Linked DNA regions of Homo sapiens: region 2 is linked to region 1. Evidence: promoter capture Hi-C in human tissues and cell types (Jung and others, 2019). All regions are on one chromosome and are shown on one strand. The core of a region is centred on a gene start or on the middle of the fragment in contact, and the rest is flanking DNA. Distances in the headings are between cores, read along the strand shown. Region 1 holds the start of MAGEB17 (MAGE family member B17). Region 2 has its middle 220 kb from the start of MIR548AM.

The links. Contacts are between HindIII fragments. The study calls those that stand out against the background at their distance.
Region 2: a contact is called between a fragment that was not itself captured here and the fragment with the promoter of MAGEB17 in region 1, in 2 of the 25 tissues and cell types used here (aorta and mesendoderm cells).

Annotation. Positions count from the first base shown.
Region 1 is chrX:16,165,142-16,169,237 of GRCh38, forward strand. It overlaps MAGEB17 (MAGE family member B17), which reads left to right and starts at 2,340. Exons shown (of 2, transcript NM_001277307.2): 1 at 2,340-2,642. MAGEB17-AS1 (MAGEB17 antisense RNA 1) reads right to left here and starts at 3,538. Exons shown (of 5, transcript NR_187144.1): 1 at 2,066-3,538. RefSeq lists an enhancer at 3,075-3,960. The HindIII fragment of the contact is 9,214 bases long and covers 1-4,096 here.
Region 2 is chrX:16,403,007-16,407,102 of GRCh38, forward strand. No RefSeq gene overlaps it. Among named protein-coding and RNA genes, the nearest start is that of MIR548AM, 220 kb to the right of the region's middle. The HindIII fragment of the contact is 9,450 bases long and covers 1-4,096 here.

The DNA.
Region 1 (4,096 bases), core at 1,090-3,589:
TTCTTTCTTCCTTTCTTTCTTCTTTCCTTCTTTCTGTCTCTCTCCCTCCCTCTCTGTCTCCCTCTCCTTCTTTATTTCTCTCTCTCTGTCTTGCCATCCCTCATGTCTATTGCATTGTCTGAACCAATCAGAGAAAACCACAAAATTCCCTTTGCAGAGCTCTATGTGATCAGTTTCTCACAACCACAGACCCAGAGCATAAATAGCCAAAGTGAGGAGGGAAGTGTCAGAGTTAATAAATTCTGCCTTTTAGGCAACTATTAGTATTTACCTTACTTGTCATGTCCAATAGGACCATCAAATAAACAACTGTCATTTGTGGTGCACAGATTAGCACCAACTAACACTGACTTAATTCACCATTATTAAAAATGATGCCCACTCCAGACAAGAAGTAAAGGAACCATGACTCTCTGGCCTGTAGTCAAAGGCAGGGGAACGTTCTGAGAGTTCTTTAACATACATCACTGTGAGTGGTCAAACTTGTCATAGGGGCTCATATTAACTAGGAAGCATGAAACATGCTGGTGAATGCCATGGTAAGAAAAAAATAAACTTTCTTGCTAACCATCTGCAAGTATTGCTTTTTTTTTTTTCTTGAGATGGAGTCTCACTCTATCGCCCATGCTGGAGTGCAGTGGCGCAATCTCGGCTCACTGCAACCTCCACCTCCCGGGTTCAAGCAATTCTCCTGCCTCAACCTCCCAAGAAGCTGGGATTACAGGCACCTGCCACCACACCCAGCTAATTATTGTATTTTTTCAGTAGCAACAGGGGTTCGCCATGTTGGCCAGGCTGGTCTCGAACTCCTGACCTCAGGTGATCCACCCGCCTCAGCCTCCCAAAGTGTTGGGATTACAGGGGTGAGACACCATGCCCGGCGAGTATTGTTTATTTAGAATAAAACTATTCCCATACTGTCACACTCATCTCAGCCTGAGACAGACCTTGTGTATCTTAATTCACTTTTCTTCTCCCTACTCCAAATTGTATATCAAGTAATAAGAAGAAAAATACCGTGTACAAACTACTGGTTTGGAATACATAGCCAGAGCAATAAGAATACAAAAATAAATGAGAGCTATGAATAAGGAAAAGAAAGAGACAATACTCAGTGACCACATGATCATCTACATATGTGATGTCAGATCACCTGAAAAGATTGGGGACTCACAGAATCATGTGGCCCTACCCTTCCTTGGAGAAAGCCAATCTATTAGAACCAAAGTTACAGCAGAGGCAAAGTCTGGCTGGTAAAGAAATGGAATAGACCAACTGGCTTTATTTTGACCACCCACCACTTGTCCTGGGCCCCCTGCCTTGAGCTACAACTTCCTGATCTCTCATCACTTCAGGGCAAGGAGCCATTCTCTGCAAAGTTTGCGGAAGAAAAACTGTTAAAGAGATTGCAGGGATTTGGCATTTCCCAGGAAGCCTTGAATTAATGAGACAGGAACCAAGATGTGAAGCCCCATGTAGGAGGACTGAGGATACCGTCATCCCAGAATATTGGAGGTCCAACAGAGACCAGCCTGTGGCTGCTCTCAGACTTAGAGGGCCACAGGCAGGGCTGAGGCTGAGCATCTCCACAATTATCCTTCAAGGTTCTCAGGAGCATGAGAGATTTCAGGAAGACAAACTCAGGTCAGTAGAGGAAGGACTGTGAGCTTCTGATAGATACCAAGGTGATGACCCTGAATTAAGAATAAAGGAAGGAACAAGCCAGAACAGTGGGGTCCCATAGAGTCCTGCCCTGGCTGACAGCCCTTGTCGTTCTGGAATAGTCATTGGTAGATTTGGCTCATCCTGATTACAACTCTGTAGTCCCAGGAAGGTGAAGACCTTGATCAGAGGGGAGCAGCCTCAAGTCCCATGAGGATCGAGTTCCAGGACTAGTCAGTCAGGTGTCAAGGTGAGGAATTTCAGGGAGCAATTAGAAAACCACACATCCATACTAGAACAGAGGAAGACACAAAAACTCTTACCTCCACCAACCCACATCTCCCCTTCCCTGCACCGCCGCTGCCACACCATCCCATCCCCACTCCTGTCACACCATCCTTACCTCTCCTGTGACTTGGGAAGCTCAGGAAGAGCTGTCAGGTTGAGGTGACTGTCATTTCGGCCTGGAGGGTCTCAGGGAAGGGAGAATCTTGGTCTGGTGGGGGAAGCCCCAGCTGTGCATAGTGGAGCCCCAGAAACTGACTCGAATCAAGGTGAGGACCGAGAGTGACATAAGGGAATGGTTATCAGCAAAAAATAAAAACAAAAATAAAAAAATGCTTAATCTTGTCAGCCATAGCAAAGACCTCAGCTGAGGACCCCTTTTTTTCTGCTTAGATGCTCTAACGAGGGTAGTGACTCTGTCTAAAGGCAAAAGCACAGTTCAGCTGAGGGAGGAGAACTGGACACTCATTGGAGTCCCGGAGAGGACACTGAGTACACTGGAGAGGACTTCTATGCAAAAAGGGGGCCCGAGCAGAGCCCCGCCCCGCTTTCAGCCCTGGGAGACCCAGCAGGGACTTGATTGGATGTGGCTCACTCCGACATCCGCCCGCCTGGGAAGCTGCCGGAAGTGAGGATCTTCGTCTGAGGGACGCCACCTCAGGCTACCAGAACCCCAAGACTGGTTGGGTATCAAGGTAAGGACCCTGATCGTGGACTGAAAGGCCCACCACACGCAGCCAAGGCGACCACCCTGTGTCCCCCAACCCCCGCCCCCGGGTACCCACCTCCCTCAGCCGCGGGAGGCTCCAGTCAGGCTGTGGCACTGACTTCTGAGAGGGCACCAGGGAGGGGAGGGTTTGGTGTGAGGGTGAGGCTTCGATTCTGCAGAGGGATGGACTCCTAGGCCCTAATCGAAATGAGGTCCCTGATGCTGATGAGGAGACCTCTCCCAAACATGGGAGGCCCACGAGGCGGGCATGGTAGCTCACACCTGTGATCCCAGTGCTTTGGGAGGCTGAGGCGGGAGGATTACCCGAGCCCAGCAGTTCCAGACCAGTCTGAGTAACAAAGCGAGACCCTCTCTCTCCAAGAAAGAAAAGAACAAAAACTAGCGGGACATGGTGGCCGGCGCCTGTGGCCCCAGCGACTCGGGAGGCTGAGGCAGGAGGATCGCTTGAGCCCAGCAGGTCGAAGCTGCAGTGAGCCATGGTCACGCCATGAGCGTGGCGACAGAGTGAGACCCCGTGTCTGTCACAAAGAAAAAAAAAAAAAAGGAAAAAGCAAGAGAGCCAGGGAGAGCCAGAGAGCCAGGTTTCTGCTGCCCTGTTGTCAGCTCTGGGAGACCCCGTGCAGGCATAGCCAGACGGGGCATGCCGTGACTTTTCCCTCTAGCAACTTTGGGACGTGAGAGCTTGGGCCTGGGCCTGGCTGACTCAGGTCAGTGGAGCGACCTGAGTCGCGTCCCAAAGAGTTGGAGGTCCCACCCTGAGCCAGGTTCAGAACCCTGAGGCAGAGCAGTGGGGTCCCCTATAGTCCCACCCCTGCTGTCACGCCTTGAAGGCCCTAAACAGCCTTGAGAGGATGTGGCTTACCCTGAATGTCCAAATCTGAGGTCCCATTGAAGCAAGGATCTTGCTTTGAAGGGTGTTGCCTGTAGTGAGCTGAGGATGGAGTCCCAGGACTGGTCAAGTAGCAAGGTGAAGATCCTGAGCCCTCAGTAGACAGGGCTGCACGGAGCGTTTCAGCAGAGGGCTTTGGTTGCAAGACTGGCTGCCCCAGGTCAGCGGAGAAAGGAGTCCCAGGCTCTGTGGGGAGTGAAGGTAAAAAAAACCCTGCGTGAGGAGGGAGGAAAATGGCCATTCCAAAACACAGGAGACCACATAGAGTCTCAGCTCTGCTGTGCGCCCTGGGAAACCATGGGCAGAGCCATTAGCATTTGGTGACCCCTCGTGTCCTGAAGGGGTCAGGGTGGCGTTTCAGAGAAGTGGCTCTTTTGCACCAATGGGCGAGGCCCCATTCATGGTGGGGTGGGAAGGAGGACTTAGTCCCTGGTGGGAGTCAAGGGGAGAACACTGAATGAGAAGAGGGAGCCCTTCCCAGGGAGAAGTAGGCCACATAGAGCACCACCCCTACTGTCACCTCTGGGAGA
Region 2 (4,096 bases), core at 846-3,345, 240 kb after region 1:
ATGCATAAAACTCAAATTACAAAGGTCAGCACAGATCAAATGCAAGACTTCTGAATTTCCAGGTGTGATGGCAGCTAGCTAGCACTGTGTGCTCCTCAGTTTCCATTATCACTGCAGAACACCCATGGATGCACAGGACATTTTATTTCACAGAAGTCCTGGAAGCTGAGCAAAGCAATCAATGACTTGCCTCCCACTAGTAGAAATTCTGTTGGCCGTAGGGGAGATGAGCTTGACATTAAATTGTCGTATTCACTTCCTAGTCCTTCGAAACAGGACAGAGCCAGAGAGGAAATAGGAAGGAGTGGAATGTAACTGACCCCCCAATATCCACCCCTACCTTGGAGAGAATAGGTCTGAGTCACACCTTTTCTGCAGGAAAACAACCCTCTGAGTCGCTTAGGATTATAGATACCAAGAATTTGGCTAAGACCTGTACCCATCAACTCACTCCCTCAAGTTACAATCTGAGGCAGAAATTATGACAAACCCCAATTGGTCCATGAACATAACCAGAGAGAGAGTAGTATTACCTCATCTTCTGCAAAACTCAGGTCAGGCTAGATCTCTTTCTTGCAAGGATGAACTCACAGGTGGGGAATAAAAGAATTTAACATGAAAAGATCAATAAAAATATTTTGCAACATTAAAACCTGATCACATAGCAGTTATTTTTCAAATGCTGATGTTCCAGGTACTCTGCTTAGCACTTCACATACTTACCTACCTTAATTTTCAGAGCCACCCCATGAGAGAGGCACTGAAGTCCCAGAAGGATAATTAAATCTTCAAAGTCACATGGCTGATTGGTGCCAAGGCTGGGACTCAAATAAAAATTGAAGGTCTGTGCTCCTAATCACGCCCCAGGCTCCTTCCCAGGGAACCAGGGACCTGTGCTTCTCAACTCTCAGGACACATACAAATCCCTGGTTGAAGTGGGGAGGGTGGCAGTGGGGGCAGGGGAGCATGTTATGTTAAAATGCAGATTCTGATTCAGTGAGTCTGGGGTGGAGTCTGAAAATGTACATTTCTAACAAGCCCCTGGGTGATGCTGATGCTGGTGGTGCTTAGACCACAGTTTGAGCAGCAAAGATCAAGAAAGTATGCAACTGTGGGGAAACAGGAAGAAGTTAGGTTCTCAAAAATATGGCAAAAACCTCAATTACGTTTGCACCATCCTTATATATAAGAAAATCTGAACTCTGTGAAGTAGGCAATGAAAGAAGAAATAAAAGCATGCAAGGCTGGCATGAAAATAGAAGGGTGAAGAAAGAGCTGGGACAAATTGCAAAGAATCCAAGGAAACTACAAAGAAAGAAGTATCCACTAGAGCCAACAAAAGAGCAGAATCTGCATTAGGAAACAAATAAAAAATGTATAAGGCAAACTTACACAGCACTCCAAAAATAATGAGGGGAAAGAACAAAAGGATGAAAATGGTAAAAAAAAAAAAAAAAAAAAAAAAAAGATTACAGCAACAGGAACAAAGATACAAGCTTCTAAAAACAGGCATTGTAGAGGGGGAAGCAGGAAAACTGGGGCAAACAGTAAACTTGACGATACAGTACAGGAAAACATTCCTGCACGGAAGATATTCAGACTTAACACTGAAAAAGTGAGGGTAATTTCCCATGGCAGATGCTGTTGGTGCCCTGCTTCGTTTCCCCTCCTGACACTTCAGACTCCACCTGCTGCTACGGTGGACTGTTCCCTGGGCTCCCTGACAGCTCCCTGCTTCAAGCACCCATATCCCTCTGCCTTCGAGAGAGCTTGTGCACCAAGAAGCTCAGATTTAACACCCTCAGATTAAATCAACCAAGGCGGAGCCAGATTCAGTGGATACACACCTCAGGTTCACCTTCACAGGCTGGGACAATTTTGAGGTGTGCTCTACATTGTCTCCCAATATCCCCAATAAGATTGAGCCCCAGTCATCTGCAGTTGTAATCCACACATTCACTCACCCTTTATTGGCTTTTCTCTCTTCCTTGCCCCAATTCCCACTCCCTAACTTGGGTATCCTGGGATCACCTCCCAATTAAATTATTGGCTCCCAAGTCTTTGTCTCAGGATCTGCTTTTCAGGAAACACAAGCTAAGACATGCCCCAAATATGTGAGAGGAAAATCCTTAACTATATTCAAAAGGAAAGAAATTCCACGTTTAATGATGTGTTATTTAATGGGTCAAGTGGCTCCCATGTTTTGAATTCTGGAGCTTACAGGCAGCACTAAAGTGGGCAACAGATGAGTCTTCCCAGACCTCACCCCTTTCACCACTTTCCCCTCCTTTGGGCTCCACTATACATGGTGTATAACATCCAGAATGTCTTAGAGTATGATTCCTATCCTTTGTCTCCCCCTCTTACCTGTCAACACCTCATATACAGAAACTGCAATTTAATGGCTTTATATCCCAAGCATATAGCACAGTATCTTACACATAGAAGGCTCTTGATAACTTGCTAAATAAATGTTGGGTCAATAACTGGGTCCTAGGACTGGCTCTGCCACTGACTAGCTGTGTGACCTTGGAAAAATCACTTAAAGGCTTAACTGGGCCTCAGTTACCTCCATTTATAATATGAGATAACTTGACTCTGTGTTCTCTGAGGTCAAGTTATTATATGAATCTAGATAAGTAAAATTTCTCCCCACTCTCTGATTTCTTTTTTTTTATTTTTGTGGGTACATAGTAGGTGTATATATTGATAGGACACATGAGATGTTTTGATACAGGCATGCAATGTGTAATAATCACGTCATGGAGAATGGGGTATCCATCCGCTCAAACATTTGCCCTTTGTATTACAAATAATCCAATATGCTCCTTTAGTTATTTTAAAATGTACAATTAAGTGATTATTAACTATAGTCACCCTGTTGTGCCACCAAATAGTAGGTCTTATTCATTTTATCTAACTTTTTTTTGGTACCCATTAACCTGCCCCACGTACCCCCCATCTCTGATCTCTTGAGCCTGGTTAATGCAGTATAAAGCTGGCCATACTATAAGGGAGACAGTCAAATCTTTGTGGATCACACTAAGCTGTAACTACGGTATTTTCTAAAATCCTAGCACTTAACAGCTTCTTTTTGTGCCTAAGTAAAATTCTACTGGTGACTATGATGTACCCTTATTGTCCAAGGCATTGTCTATGCCTGTGTTGTCCATTATGGTGGACACTAGTCCCATGTGGCTATTAGGCCCTTGAAATGTGCCTAGTCCCAAATGAGATGTGAGGTAAGTGTAAAAGACACACTGAATTCTGAAAAATGTAATACCAACAAAATGTGAAATATCTCAGCTGTGTTGTATGGATTACATGTTAAAGTGCTCACATGTTGGATATATTGGGCTAAATGAAATACATTACTAAAATTAATTTTACTTATTTCTTTTTACTTTTTAAATGTGGCTATGAGAGCAATTAGTATGAAGAAAATTTAGTGACTCACATCCTGTTTCTACTGGACAGTTTCTGATGATAAAAAAAGATGCATGTCTTAGTCTCTGACCTTTAAAAAAATTGTTTTAGTATAGTGGAGAGACACATGGAGGAAGAAATAGACCCAGAAGTAACTAATGGAAGGCAGCGTGACTGTGAAACAGAAGAATAGAGGGACAATGTACTACATGAGTTAAGAGGAGAAAGGAATTCTGTAACTGGGTTTTATTTGCTGGGGAGCCACGTTGAGCCTGCTCCTACATAGGAAAACACCCTGTTGTGTTTTGTCATTTTTCTCACAGAGATTCACGCATTATCACAATAGGCTTTTGCTAACAGCTACAGAGAAACTAGAGAAAACCAAACCAAACCTGGTCTCAAAGATATTATTGTCCCGGAAATGCTCTGAGAATAAGAGAAAATCTTGTTTATATTTCCTGCCTGTGGTGTTCAAATCTATCCAGGGAGAGGATGATATAAATTCCCCAAAATAAAGTATTGTGGCTTGACTCTCCCCATATCCCTCTAAAAAGACAAATTATTGTTCACAGTGCAATCTCTTGAATTGGCTAAATGGTCTTCCAAATAAACATTTTGAGAGATAGGTCCCCCAGGTGCTTACAAATTCCCCCAGTCCCTTAATGAGTGT